2 separate regions of the Homo sapiens genome follow, and region 1 is linked to region 2. Evidence: promoter capture Hi-C in 16 types of primary human blood cells and fetal thymus (Javierre and others, 2016). All regions are on one chromosome and are shown on one strand. Each heading gives the region's core, a stretch centred on a gene start or on the middle of the fragment in contact. The rest is flanking DNA. Distances are from core to core; before and after follow the strand shown. Region 1 has its middle 91 kb from the start of GAB4. Region 2 holds the start of XKR3 (XK related 3).

Region 1 (6,574 bases), core at 2,205-4,704, 91 kb before region 2:
GACTCCGAGTAATGAGTGATGTCTGTTACCTGTGATAATACGGTGCAGAGACACATAAGACTGATTGAATTAATAGAACAAGATCCCGATGCAGGCTAAGGGCTTAAATTATACTTGAGATGATTTATTTTAAGATAATGGATTCGGCCGGGCGCGGTGGCTCACGCCTGTAATCCCAGCACTTTGGGAGGCCGAGGCGGGTGGATCATGAGGTCAGGAGATCGAGACCATCCTGGCTAACAAGGTGAAACCCCGTCCCTACTAAAAATACAAAAAATTAGCCGGGCGCAGTGGCGGGCGCCTGTAGTCCCAGCTACTCAGGAGGCTGAGGCAGGAGAATGGCGTGAACCCGGGAAGCGGAGCTTGCAGTGAGCCGAGATTGCACCACTGCAGTCCGCAGTCCGGCCTGGGCGACAGAGCGAGACTCCGTCTCAAAAAAAAAAAAAAAAAAAGATAATGGATTCCGTAGTAAGTACAATTAAAATTCCAATGTGTCATTTCTGTTATGTTTAAAAGTTGCATGGCAAAATGTATATAGATATTTATCAGGTCATAGCCCAGGTGGCATCTGCAAACCCGGAAGAAGGTCTTTACCAGAAAGCGAACCCTGCTGGACATTGATCTGGGCACCAAAAATGTGAAACATGAAAATTAAATTCTGTGGTTTATGTCATCCAGATCAGTGTTTTTGGTGTGGCAGCGCAAGCTGACTATCCACCTTCCCCACCCTCTGTGAGCAGGAGCAGCCTTAGGAGGCCCTCATGGAGGCGGGGACCCAGCTTTGCTCCTCTTCCTCCTGCTTTTCCAACTCTCTGGTGAGGAGGGAGAACTCAGGCTTCATCTGCAGTTCCTGTGCATTAAACATGAATGTTTCCTTCAGGATGAAGTTTTTAGCCCATTTTGCTTTCTCATCAGAATTTAATCGGACATGAAAGTTAAGGATTATGAAATGGGCAGATCATCCTGTATTGACCAGATGGGCCCTGGTCCAGGTGGGTCAATAAAAAGGCTTTGTTAAAATGTCTGCCTATCTCTATCTTATAAGGACATCACGATTGTCCTTATAAGATAGATAGGCAGACATTTAACAAAGACTGCAGAAGAGAAGGTGATTTGAAGACAGAGACAGAGATTGAAGTGACGTGGACACAGAATGCTCAGGAAGGAAAGAGAATCATTGCTTCCCTTTCTGCAGTTTGTTGGTAGGTGAGGTGGGCCCTGCAGAAAGATTAGCAAGCACAGAGGAAAAACTCACCACTTATTCCCACAGCTGTGTATATAGTTTTATAGGATTTCTAAACATTTTTTCCAAGGAAAAGTAAAGAACAATAACTCAAATATTTGGAAACAGGGTCAGCTTAGACAGGTCTAGAACACGGTCTGAAGGTACAACATATGAACAACCCTGTTTCTTCCAGTGCCGGAGAGATGAATTCTCAGAAGCAGAAGATACACATTCATGAAGCCTTCATTCCCTGAGCTGTCTGTGTTCCAGAATATTTATCTGTGAATATATTCTCCAGTGAGTGACAATTTACAGTTAGTGAGATAATGCAGACAGCTTCAACCCCCGGTGCCTTGCAGCCAGGAATCCAGTCACAGGACCTGCAGCTTCACGAAGGGATGCTCAGTGGGTGGCTTGCATGCAAAGATAAACTCTCCCCTTTAACAAAAAGAACCTTCATTGTGCCCCAAGTGGGGAACAGGCCTCTGTGTTACTCAACCTCATCCATGGTAGTGTTGGTTTGGAAAATATGGACTAATGCCGTCTGTAGAACAAAGTCTACAGAATTAGAAACAGTGACATAGAAATGAGCTAAAGATGGCCTGTGGGTCCTGGCCCCCATGTTGTTTATTTCAAAACTGTGTTTACTTCTTTTTTTTTTGAGACGGAGTCTCACTCTGTCAACCAGGCTGGAGTGCAATGGCGTGATCTTGGCTCAATGCAACCTCCGCCTCACGGGTTCAAGCAATTCTCCTGCCTCAGCCTCCCGAGTAGCTGGGACTACAGGCACGTGCCACCATGCCAAGCTAATTTTTGTATTTTTAGTAGAGACGCGGTTTCACCATGTTGGTCAGGCTGGTCTCCAACTCCTGACCTTGTGATCCGCACACCTTGGCCTCCCAAAGTGCTGGGATTACAGGCGTGAGCCACCGGGCCCGGCCAAAACTGTGTTTACTTCCTAATGGCCTGTTCCAAACTCAAATTTTACAATGCAATTATTTTAACAACAGCCCAAAGAAGAATACTTTTAGCCTTTTAGAAAATACTTACTTTGCATGTCCAGAAAATTTCAACCACATCTACTCGCAGTAAGATAAACCCCAGTTATGAAAACCTTAAACCAGAAACTCCCCACTGTGCTGCTGTGAGGCGTCCCCTAGACACACAGCCCCTTGTCCAGTGTCCCATCGTTTCGAGAAGCAAGCCTGGCAGCTTATTCTCTGCACAGATTCCTGCTGGGAGGGGCTTCTCTCTGCAAACCTGACAAAACGTCACCCAATAAAGTCATGTGTGCGACTGCCCCCCTGTGGCCATCTCTTTTTCCTTGATGAGCCCGCAAGTCATTCCAATCCCGTACAAATCGGATCACAGTGTCCACCCCAAACACTGACTCCAGGGTCATGAACACAAACAGTTCCACTTCTAAGACTCTTGCCAAGTCTTACGAATAATGCAGTTGCTCCCAGTTTTATGGACCCCAAACTAACCGCATCAGGAAAAGGAGACACAGCCATAATAAACCCCACCTGTATAAGTCCTCCCTCATTCAGGTGACCATGGTTCATGTTAGAGACACTCAGAGGCAGAGGCCTGCCGCACACCTAGATCCGAATGGAGGTGGTTGTGACACCTTCTGATCTGTGTCCACTGTGGAGTGACCAGCTTTGTCTGCTGTTGTGAAAGCCTTGGCATAATGTGTCAACAGATAAGAAAGGGAGGTTTCTAATCAGAATTAGTAATATTATCCTTTAAGTCTATAGGTAATAAAGAGTAATTTCAAAGCTCTTTTCTGACTAAAAAAGATTTCTACAAAATTTCACAATTTATATTTATGTACAGCAACAGATCATGAGATTTTTAAAAATCACAATGGTAACCTTCTTAACGATGTATTACTAAGTTTCATAGGAAATAGCAAGACTATCTTAAATTCAAGCTTCTTAAGGAATACTTTGCAAAAACAACATTTTCAAGAATTGACCTTTAGTAAAAGAAAACCTGACAAATTTTTTTATTGTTAGTCACTTCCCTGCAATTCAAGTTTGTTTTTAATTATAGATAGAACTGATTCCTCATTTAATACCCTTTCAGAATAATTATTTAAAACTTACAATATGATGCACCATCTCGTTCTACTTTAGTTAGGCTGATTGTGTTTTCTTTTTCTTTTCCTTCAGCCTCTGATGTTTCTATTGTTCACTAGTATGATTATTTAGGAGTCTCACTTTTTGAAGAATAAGAAGCAGGTTTGAATTGGTTAATAACATAAGAAAAAGTCAAGTGCACAAAAGTTACGAAATTTAATGAGAAAAGAGTAAATAAAATTGACATAGTTTTCTACAGTTTACTGTGAGCCTTTAATCAAATTTCTTAAGCACAATTTGATCTCCTTAACCCCCATTATTGCAATGGTGTTAAACATTGAAAGGTCTATAATATTATTTTTATTCAATTATCTTTTCCAATCTTGGAAAAAAGGTTATTTTGGTAGATTTCTCAGAAGATATTGAAACCAAGCTTTCTTCTGGAATCTTACCTAGAATTTCATGTATTTGTGTTCTTGGGCAATTAAATATAAATTTTTGTTAAATTACCCAAGATTACATAGCACTACAAGCTAGTCTTTCAGTTGTAGCTGAATTTTTTTTTCCCAGAAATGTGACTGTCTTTGTGATAGTGTTTGGTGTTGGCAGAATTATTCAGGAGCTGTTCAATTAAATACTAAGCACACCACGAACAAATCAAGAAACATGAGATTGTTTCCCTTTGTAATGATCAGCTGTGTGAAAGACTCACACCCCTGAACCATGTGCATCTTTACATGAAACCATGAAAATGTCAGTTACAGGTCCAGGTTACCCTGAGACATAAAACTGTAGATGCAGTCCTTGCTCTTCTCACATAGACAATTTCCTTTTCAACTGCAGACTCATGGCTGTGGCTGCACCACATCCAGGCTGGGGGTGACTCAGGTCTCACTCAGGGTTGGCCATAACCTGGAAGCCCTCACAGGACCTGATGCCACATGACCAGGGAGGCTGTGTGAGAAGAGTTTTCGTAAGCACCACTCAGAAAAACATCATGCAATGTTATTTCTTATTTGCTTTGTATCATTAACCAAGGAAATTCTTCCCTATGAGATCCTGCTGGTTAATCTTGTATATGTGAGATGATTATGATGCGATTATCCCAGATTGAACAGTTGGTCACCAGGAATTTTGTATTCACTGCCTGAGGTGTAACATTCTTGCCCCATTGCCTCTTACTTATGCTGGGCTCTTGGCTCTAAATGTAGAGACCCACATCATTCTCCCTGTGAGGCCCTTGGACGGAGCGCTTTTTTGGGGCTCACTCATCAGGTGCCAGGGACGGGGAGATTCTAACACTTGCACTGAATAATATTGAACAGTTATCCTGGAAACAGCACATACGAGGCAACACTTGAACTGGCTCAGGAGCACTTTTCATTTGCAGGCCCTCTGCCCGTCTGTGCTTGTGGGAATGGGGCTGTTTTCTTTCTCTAGATTGATTGGGAGGGAGGCCTGCAGGATGGCATTCACCTCCCAAAGATGCATCCTAGAAACACATTTCCACGTTGTCAGGGTCCTTGTGCGTTCTCAGTGTGGCATGCACTGCACAATGTGTCCCTGCCCAAGGTCCCAACTTCCACAGTCAGAGCCTTCTTCCCTTGACCACAGGCAAACTTGACTTGAACTACATTTGTTTGGCTCCAGCAAACATTTTATGTCACATTGTTCACAGAAGAGACATTCCCCCTGCCCCATCAACCTTTTCCACACCACTGCACCCACCAGGTGATTTGCATGTTGTCCCTTAGGGAGGACCTTCCCTTGTGAGTCTGAGATAAAAGCTCAGCTCTAACCTTGCCTTGACTGATCAGGACTCCTCAGTTCACCTTCTCACAATGAGGCTCCCTGCTCAGCTCCTGGGGCTGCTAATGCTCTGGGTCTCTGGTAAGGATAGGATCAAAAGTGAGGTGAGAAAATGGGGTGGGAGGGTGAGATCTGGGGTCTCCACAGCTTCCTATTTTTATTTCAACCATGTGTTACGGGCACATGGTCTGTGCTCCGGGAAAGATTACTCGTATTTTTTGTCTCAGGAATAGTCAGGAATCATCTCCCAGGAAAAATGACCAGTGCTCTGATTAAGCTCTTGAAAATAAACTGCTCCCTGCTGGCTAGTAACAAATTGGTTCATTTTAGAAAGTCTACTTTTCATGATAAAAATCAAAACTTGAAAAAATATGTAACTCTAAATCAAAATCTTAAGGAAAATCATGAAAGTTGCTCAAAATGTGTTTATATAACCTTGCACTTCTCTGTTATTATTTCAGGATCCAGTGGGGACATTGTGATGACCCAGACTCCACTCTCCCTGCCTGTCACTCCTGGAGAGCCAGCCTCCATCTCCTGCAGATCTAGTGAGAGCCTCTTGGATACTGATGATGAATACACCTATTTGAATTGGTACCTGCAGAAGCCAGGCCAGTCTCCACAGCTCCTGATCTATGAGGTTTCCAACCGGGCCTCTGGAGTTCCAGACAGGTTCAGTGGCAGTGGGTCAGGCACTGATTTCACTCTGAAAATCAGTAGGGTGGAGGCTTAGGATGTTGGGGTTTATTACTGCATGCAAGCTCTACAAACTCCGCCCACAGTGCTACATCCTCGAACAGAAACCTCCCTGCTGGGTTGACCCAGCTGCCCGCATGGGCTGCTTGTCTGAGGGAACAGCTGAGCAGAGTCTTTGAGTCTGCAGAGGAGAAGGCTGTTGGGGATGTCAGGGCAAGGTTTGCTGCTGAGGACGCTGGTCCATGACAGCCTCAGTAGCACCTCAGATTTCATATGTTAAGGCCCCACCAGCAGTCACAGCCTGGGGAAGGCATCAGGAGGAGGAGAATTCATGGGGGCTACGTGCCCTGGGAGCAACCAGCTATGATGAAGGGAGAGTGAATGAAAGCTCACATCCTCACCCTCCCTGTCTTGCCCACATTTGTCAAGTTCATGTAACTGTCAGAATAACCAGACCATGGATGCAGTTTAGTGACAACACAAGTAGAACACATATGGGAAATGACCATCTTGGGGTTTATTTCACACGCGATGACACTTAGTCATATTGGGAAATTCATACTCTCCCATCTTCCTAATTCTGCTCTCTGACTCCCACCAAACCGTCTCTCCAGTGTCTTACAGGTAGAAGCATTCTACACAAGCTGTGTGCAGGGGAGTACAGCTAACACTTAGAAAAAATGTTTGATGTTGGATTATTCAAATAGACTTTGTAAACTCATGGCAGGTATGAGATCTTAATGTTAAAAGATTGATTACT
Region 2 (7,002 bases), core at 3,326-5,825:
TTTTGTGCCATTGTAATTTAGGCCCTCATTTGATTTATGCCAGACTACTTGAGAAGTCAGTTATTACTCTTTTCTAACTCCAATTCCTTCTTTTTCCCTTGCCTGCTGCCATGGTTTTGATATATAAACATATGTATGTGAATTAGCCAACGTTGACTGTGGACTTAGAAACCATAAAATCGTGAGTGTGCACCCTCATGGCGGGATTGATAGCATTATCTGGCGAACAGGCTAGTTATTGTGTGAGTGGGCTTTGGAACCAAGGATGAGTTTGGCCCTGATTTTCTGTTTATCACATGTCCTTTACCGTAGGATGGCCTCCTGCCATGTTGCAACATAGAAAGAAGATCTCACCAGATGCAGCCCCTTGGACTTTCCAGCCTTCAGAATAATGAGCAAAATAAGTCACCTTACAAATTACCCAGTCAGTGGTATTGTGTTGTCGCAGCAGCAAATGGACTAAAACACTCTATTATTTCTTCCTCTTTAGATAATTAAATAAACTAGCTTACAAAGGGCCATGTCAAATTTCCCATCAAATGATAAAAAAGCACATATTTTTTTTTAAATGCGGTACAGTAGCCTGCCACTAAAACAAAGCCCCATTTTACTCCTAACTGTATTTTTAGAAATAAAGGAAAAGCAACCATAAAGGTCAACATGTAATTTTATTGTTCAGTAAGATTATTGCAGGAATTTTTAATGTTCTTGTCAACATAAATTTCAGTCTCTGTTGTCATGCATAATCTGGTACTCTTTTGGTGGAAGATCAGTTGTAACTAGGGTGATATTTTTCCAGTAAAGATGGTTGAAGAGCTGGCCTGTAACGAAAGGCAACTGATGTATCAGCTGTCGCAGTCATTTACAACCACAGGTTGCCTGCTGGTAGCAGGTTAGAATGAGGAGCCTCATTGGCTAATACCTCAGGATATCTGGTGGGAAAAAGTAGGTGGTTTCACTATCAGCCCCAAAGGAGGGAGATATGATGTAGTATTGAGAAGCTGTGGTTGTAACAAAATTCACAACGTGGCCATTTGCTTACATGTCGGTGCTATGAGAGTGCATATGAATATTTGTCAATTGATTTAAAATAGCATGTTGATTTGTTGTAATTTGTTCTGATTGTCCAACTGAGGTTGAAATGGAAGAGGAGGGAAACCACTTCTAATTGGGTCAGGTGAACCAGCAATGCCCTGGCTGACAGAAGATTTCCTTGTTAGAGTCATATTTAAATTTGTAGATGTTGAAAATGAACTTTCTTCACTAGTTTCAGCAGCTAAGACAGAATTATGTTTATCTGTGTTAGCCCCTGCTCTAAAGTGTTTCTTGAAATATTCAGTGAAGTAGATACAAGAGAAGTGTTTTTAATCTTAATTCTTCTTTTCGTTCTTATTAAAAGTTGGGGACAGCCACGTTTGAAATTCGGATGATAATACAACTTTAACTAAAACCAAGGAGAAGGTAATTCAGTGCCATTTTAAACCAAGAGGCAAGTAACAATAACAAACATAACCCATACAATCTCAGATTTCTGTTTTATCACACAAAGTTAATATCATCAAATAATGAATGAACATTGTTTACTATTTTTAAGAACATGCTTGTTGAGAAAAAAAAACACTCAAGTTTTGAAGCCCTCTGGTGAAAACATGTTATACATTTAATAGTAACATTTCACTAAGTGGCTTTGGTATCTTTATTTGGAGTTCACTGGTAAGACTGAATGTTGTTAGCAACATTTCTTAAAACCTGAAAGTTTAATGCTCAACCTGCACTCAATAATTTCAAAAAAATTAAGTAATTTTTACCTTAATATTTGATATAATTTTTAAAATCTGATCTTACTGCATGTATTAACATAGTTACTGATATATAAAATGAAATTACATATATACTCAAAGTGGTAACTGAAATATTTTGAATACCTTGCTTAAAACAGAAATTTCTTTTTCTTCTGCCAGAAAGTTGGCTAGAAAAGCAGATCTGTGAAAATTCTGTTGAATTTTACTAAATCCATAAAGGTTGAGCTGTCAAATTAAGATTTTCATACTGTCAGTTTGAAATATTCTGTAAGGAGCCTTTATTTCCAAATTTTCTTTCTTGAAGAGTTCTTCATTAGTCACTATGCAAGTTTCATTCTTATCCTATGAATTAGACTTGAATTGGTCACTTTCAGCTATTTTCCAAAGTTTACTGGGAAAGGTCAGAGAAGGAAAATCATTATCTTTATCTGGCTCAGAGACATAAAGTATAATGTGGCCTTTTTATCAAGGATCCTTGTGGCAAAACCTGAAAATCATTGATTCAGTCATTGACCTTAAGTCTGAATCCCCAGGGATTATGTGTTCACACAATGGAGACCCAGAGGAGGCTTTTGAACCAGTTGATTCATCTTTAGGAGAAACATCTTGAGTTTCTGCAGAAACATGTGCCATCTCAAATAAGTAATTCTTTAGCGACTTTTCCAGCCTGCATGTGTTTCAAGACTGCAGCTTCAAATGCTGCTTCAGTAGTCTACTCAGGTAAAGTAATTGAGATCACCACAGTGGTTTCCAACCTGAGTAGCAATGGCATCACAAGAGGACTTTGGTCACCTAGCAACAAACATAAAAATTTGGCCAAGACTGTTTACTTTCCAGTCTCAGAAATGTATCTGGTAAAAATAAAATATAGAATGATTACTTACACAGTTTATTCTGCAAAAGTTTCATGCCTGCAGAATCTTTTAAATTAATAAGGAGGGCCAGGCATGGTGGCTCATGCCTGCAATCCCAGCGCTTTGGGAGGCCGGGACAGGCGGATCATGAGGTCATGAGTTCGAGACCAGCCTGACCACCATGGTGACACCCTGTCTCTACTAAAAATACAAAAATTAGCCAGGTGTGGTCCATGTGCCTGTAGTCCCAGGTCTCGGGAGGCTGAGGCAGAAGAATCGTTTGAACCCAGGAGGCGGAAGCTGCAGTGAGCTGAGATTGTGCCACTGCACTCCAGCCTGGGCAACAGAGCAAGACTCTGTCTTAAGAAAATAATAAATAAATAAATAAATAAATAAATAAATAAATTAATTAATATCCTCAATCCCTGAAATAAACATAATTTTCTCCTTGACACACACAGTCTTACTAGATTGGTGCGAGGAGCATAGGGCCTGGTAATTGGACGGTGCAAAAAAATAAAAATAAATATTTTAAAAACTCTCTCAGCTTGGCATGTTGGATTGAAAACTGATGCAGTGTAAAACATATATGGTAAAAAGACATGGCCATATAGACAAAAGGTAGGTTAATGGTTGTCAGGGGCTGGGGAATAGAAAGAACTGTTAAGTAGATAATGGGGTTTCCTGTTTGATGATAGAAATGTTTTAATAATATAATTTTGAATAATGTAATTTTGTATTATGTGAAACATACCTTAAAAAATTAAAATAAAATCAAATATGAATAAAACTGATTAGATTTCAGAATAAAAAGTTATTCATGTATGTATCTATTCAAAACATTTTTTATTCATATCATAGAATAAATAATACTTTCATTTGGTATGTCTGTAAATATCTGACATGTTAATTATGTAAGATTTTAAAAGCAAGTGACCTACTTATAAGGAGATCCCAAAGAGTGGGAGATTTAAAAATGTAATAATAACAAGAAAGTGTTTTAAGTAAAGTAAATTTGTATGTATGTCTAAGCAGAAAATTTTATTATTTGGTTCCAAGAGCCAAATATCTATTTAAAAAATATTTCTTAAGGAATAATCTCTGTGTCCTGCAACGTAAAGTTATCATTATAAAACAGGAGTCAAATTTGTGAATTAATCTTAGAATTGAATAAAATATTTCTTCTCTTTGAAAAATAATCATGCCCCATTTACAGTAAGAATTTTTATATGTTCATGCTTGAGAGGTGGTATATTAAAATTCTAATGCCTTGGCTTTAAGTGTTGAATATGTGTGGAATAAAAAAATAATGATTTTGATATTTCTTATACTGTAGGAGGCAGTTCTCTCATACTGGAAAGAGGTGTCATTGTTAGAAGCTTGTCTTGGTTTAACATAGTTTAAGTTTTGGGGGTGTATTTTGTTTAGTTCAAAATTTTCCATATTAGCAGTAAGTAACAAAAATGTCCAGATCAGAAAACTCTTTGTGAAAATAAAACAGGTGCTCCTACCAGATGTGGTTCATCAATTTTGACAGAATTTTCATTTAAAAAAGGCAAAATTAAAATTTGTTTAATTGTTTGCTTTCTGGGGAATTTTCTTGTTGCTCTGTCTGAAGGAAGTACAGACTTCTTTTGTGATGGGAGGGGATGAATGGCTACTAGACAGCAGCAAAAGATGGGCCATGGGTGCGAAGAGAAGAGGGAGTTAATGGGAGAATCAGAAAAATATCACCTTAAATGTAGGACAATCGAAGTCAAATTGTGGCTGAGCGTTTTGGGGAACTAAGATGTGTGACTCTGTAGGGAGGAAGAATGCCTTGGTGTTTTCAAGGGAAGATGACTCAGCTAGTGCAGTCACCTGACTCCAAACTGCAAGCCTACTTTAGTCATAAAAAGGCAAGAAAATAAGCAATTTTACCTGCAAAGCAAAGGACGTAGTGTTGAAAACGAGACCAGAAATGGTGCTGTTAAAGAGGTGAACAAAAGCATTTACTTTTTGAACGAGTTTCAAAACTGTGAGGGTGGCAAATAGGCAAGGTAAGTAGGAGCAGCCCTCGACCATCTCAGATCAGCTTCTTCAGCCTACCTTGACCTCTGCCTGTCTCAGCTGGGGATCTTAACATAAATCTCTGGATATCAGGGGTGGCTTTTCCCGAGTCTTGAGCCTAGAAACTCCCTCTCTTGATTCTGATTTTCAGAGAAGAGAAGCAGCTGCTTAGCATTTGGGTGGGACAGTGGTTGTTACTAATATATTACAAATTTCAGCATGTTTTTAAACATCAGAAGGAGAAAGTGCTTCGTATTTAAGTGAAATCTCAAAGGGGCAGAAATCTACCATATTTTTTGTTATTCAGATGCAGTGATGCACTGGCTATGTGAGTACAAGAAACAAGTTCACTTAATCACAAACACATGCCTAAATTCCATTGTTCAGTGACTTCACTTTCACTTTCTACCTTGAATTTTAGACTCTGGAAGACCCATTTCTAAACTCTGTGGCCCTTTTCATATGTGCATATTTTCATAAGTGTTTTCCAGAAATAAATTATAGAGGTCCTTCTGTGAGTCCAAAGGAGAAGGAAGTGGTTGGGGCAGCCAGAAAGGTGCAATCTGCATTAATATCATATTCGATGTATGGATTGCTGGGGAGAGAGTGGGATATATTTCTTATAATGTTGGATGTATTTTTCCCCTATCCTGAGGCCCAGAAACTCTGATGTCTCTGCAGTTGTCTTTCCATGCTTTCCTTTATACCCCTCGCCTACTTCTGTAATTTCTCTCTCTACTCTCCCTCCTCCTTCCCACCCTTTTTCTTTCCATTTGTGCTCTCTCCCTCCATTCCTTCTTTTTCCCTTTTCTTTCTTTTTGTGGGTATCTGGTAGCTGCAACTTATTTTCTTTCTGCTTTTCTTACTCACTTACTCTATTTACTAGGTATTTAACAATTGTCTTTAAAAGTAACATCCTTTCTTTCTTAAAATTTTATCCCTAATGGACATTATTTGGGGAAAAACATTTTTATGGTGCCTCTAGATAAGTAATTATATCATCTGCACATGATTCCCGTATTTTCTTACATGCCCGTTCCTCGTAGGTGGAAATGGGTACTTCATTGTACTCTTCTCTCTTTATTTACAAGAGTGTTTTTTCTGTCTCATCCCTTTAAATAACACATTGTCTCTCTTTTTGTGACATTGAATTAATTAGGTCAGATGCGATTTTTCTCATCTATTCATTTGAAGACTGTTTCATATTGCTTCTAGGGCCTATTTGCAAGCAACAAATTATTTTGTTGTTGTTGTTGTTTTGTTTTGTTTTTTAATTTTTGGACCATTTGTCTCATCACTCCAACAAGCAAGAATTAGTTCTCATCATTAAGATCCCTTCAAGATTTCATTCACTTGTTTCAGCAGCCTTGAATTATCATCACCTGGACCTGTTGTTACATCAAGAATCTCTCATTTCTAATGTTCTACTTTGGACACTGTTACCTGTGAGTTTGTTTACATTAAAAAAAAAAAACCTTTTAGTACTTGAGTACCCTAAAGTTTCATATTTTGAATTGGTGTCAGATTTATTATTATTGATCTCTCCATTGCTGGAGAAAACTAAGCAATAGGTAAACTCTATTCTTTTGGTAATTTGTATTTTCTGAATGTTTCACAGTAAATGTTTACTAGTCTTGTGATGCTGCAAATTGGCAATCAGATATATTTTAAAGTGACAAGGTTGCCCTGTTCATCACCAGTTCTGTACATCACGCAGATCAAAAGTAAGGTGTTTAAGTTTATTTTAAATGTTTTTCCCAAAAATTCTGCTTCCACCACTTTTCCAAGCTCTACCAGATGGATACTCAAGAATTGACCAAGGCAATCTCTTCTCTCATATTTCACTGTCAAATACTCTTAATCAGTGAGTCCTGTCAATTCTGTGTTTCTAAGAAATGATGATGGTGGTCATGATTATAATGATGTCAATAGGAACACCTTTCCAAACTTCACTGTGTACCACGAACTCTTCTTCCTGCTGCCGATGTATTATTTTCTCTACACTGCTATCTCCCCAGGAAGATTCTAATGATGTTATCATTGTACAGATGTGGAAACTGTAGCTTATGAGGTTTTAATTTTGCAATTCAAGGAAATGACAGGATTCTGGCAGTGTGGTAGCTCATGCTTGTAATCCCAACACTGGAAGGCTGAGGCAGGTGGATCACTTTAGCTCATGAGTTTGAGACCAGGAAGATGGTCAAACCCCATCTCCTCAAAAAACACAAAAATTAGTGTACATGGTGGCATGCACCTGTGGTCCCAGCTACTTGGGAGGCTAAGGCAGGAGGATCATT

Evidence for each region. The method cuts DNA at HindIII sites, captures the fragments that hold promoters and counts their contacts. A CHiCAGO score of 5 or more calls a contact.
Region 1: a contact is called between a fragment that was not itself captured here and the fragment with the promoter of XKR3 in region 2, in 2 of 17 cell types (naive B cells and total B cells). The highest score is 6.0, in naive B cells.

Annotation. Positions count from the first base shown.
Region 1 is chr22:16,913,556-16,920,129 of GRCh38, reverse strand. It overlaps the pseudogene IGKV2OR22-4. Among named protein-coding and RNA genes, the nearest start is that of GAB4, 91 kb to the left of the region's middle. RefSeq lists a silencer at 2,423-2,472. The HindIII fragment of the contact is 581 bases long and covers 3,164-3,744 here.
Region 2 is chr22:16,822,984-16,829,985 of GRCh38, reverse strand. XKR3 (XK related 3) reads left to right here and starts at 4,575. Exons shown (of 4, transcript NM_001386955.1): 1 at 4,575-4,695. It also overlaps the pseudogene HSFY1P1. The HindIII fragment of the contact is 7,309 bases long and covers 4,038-7,002 here.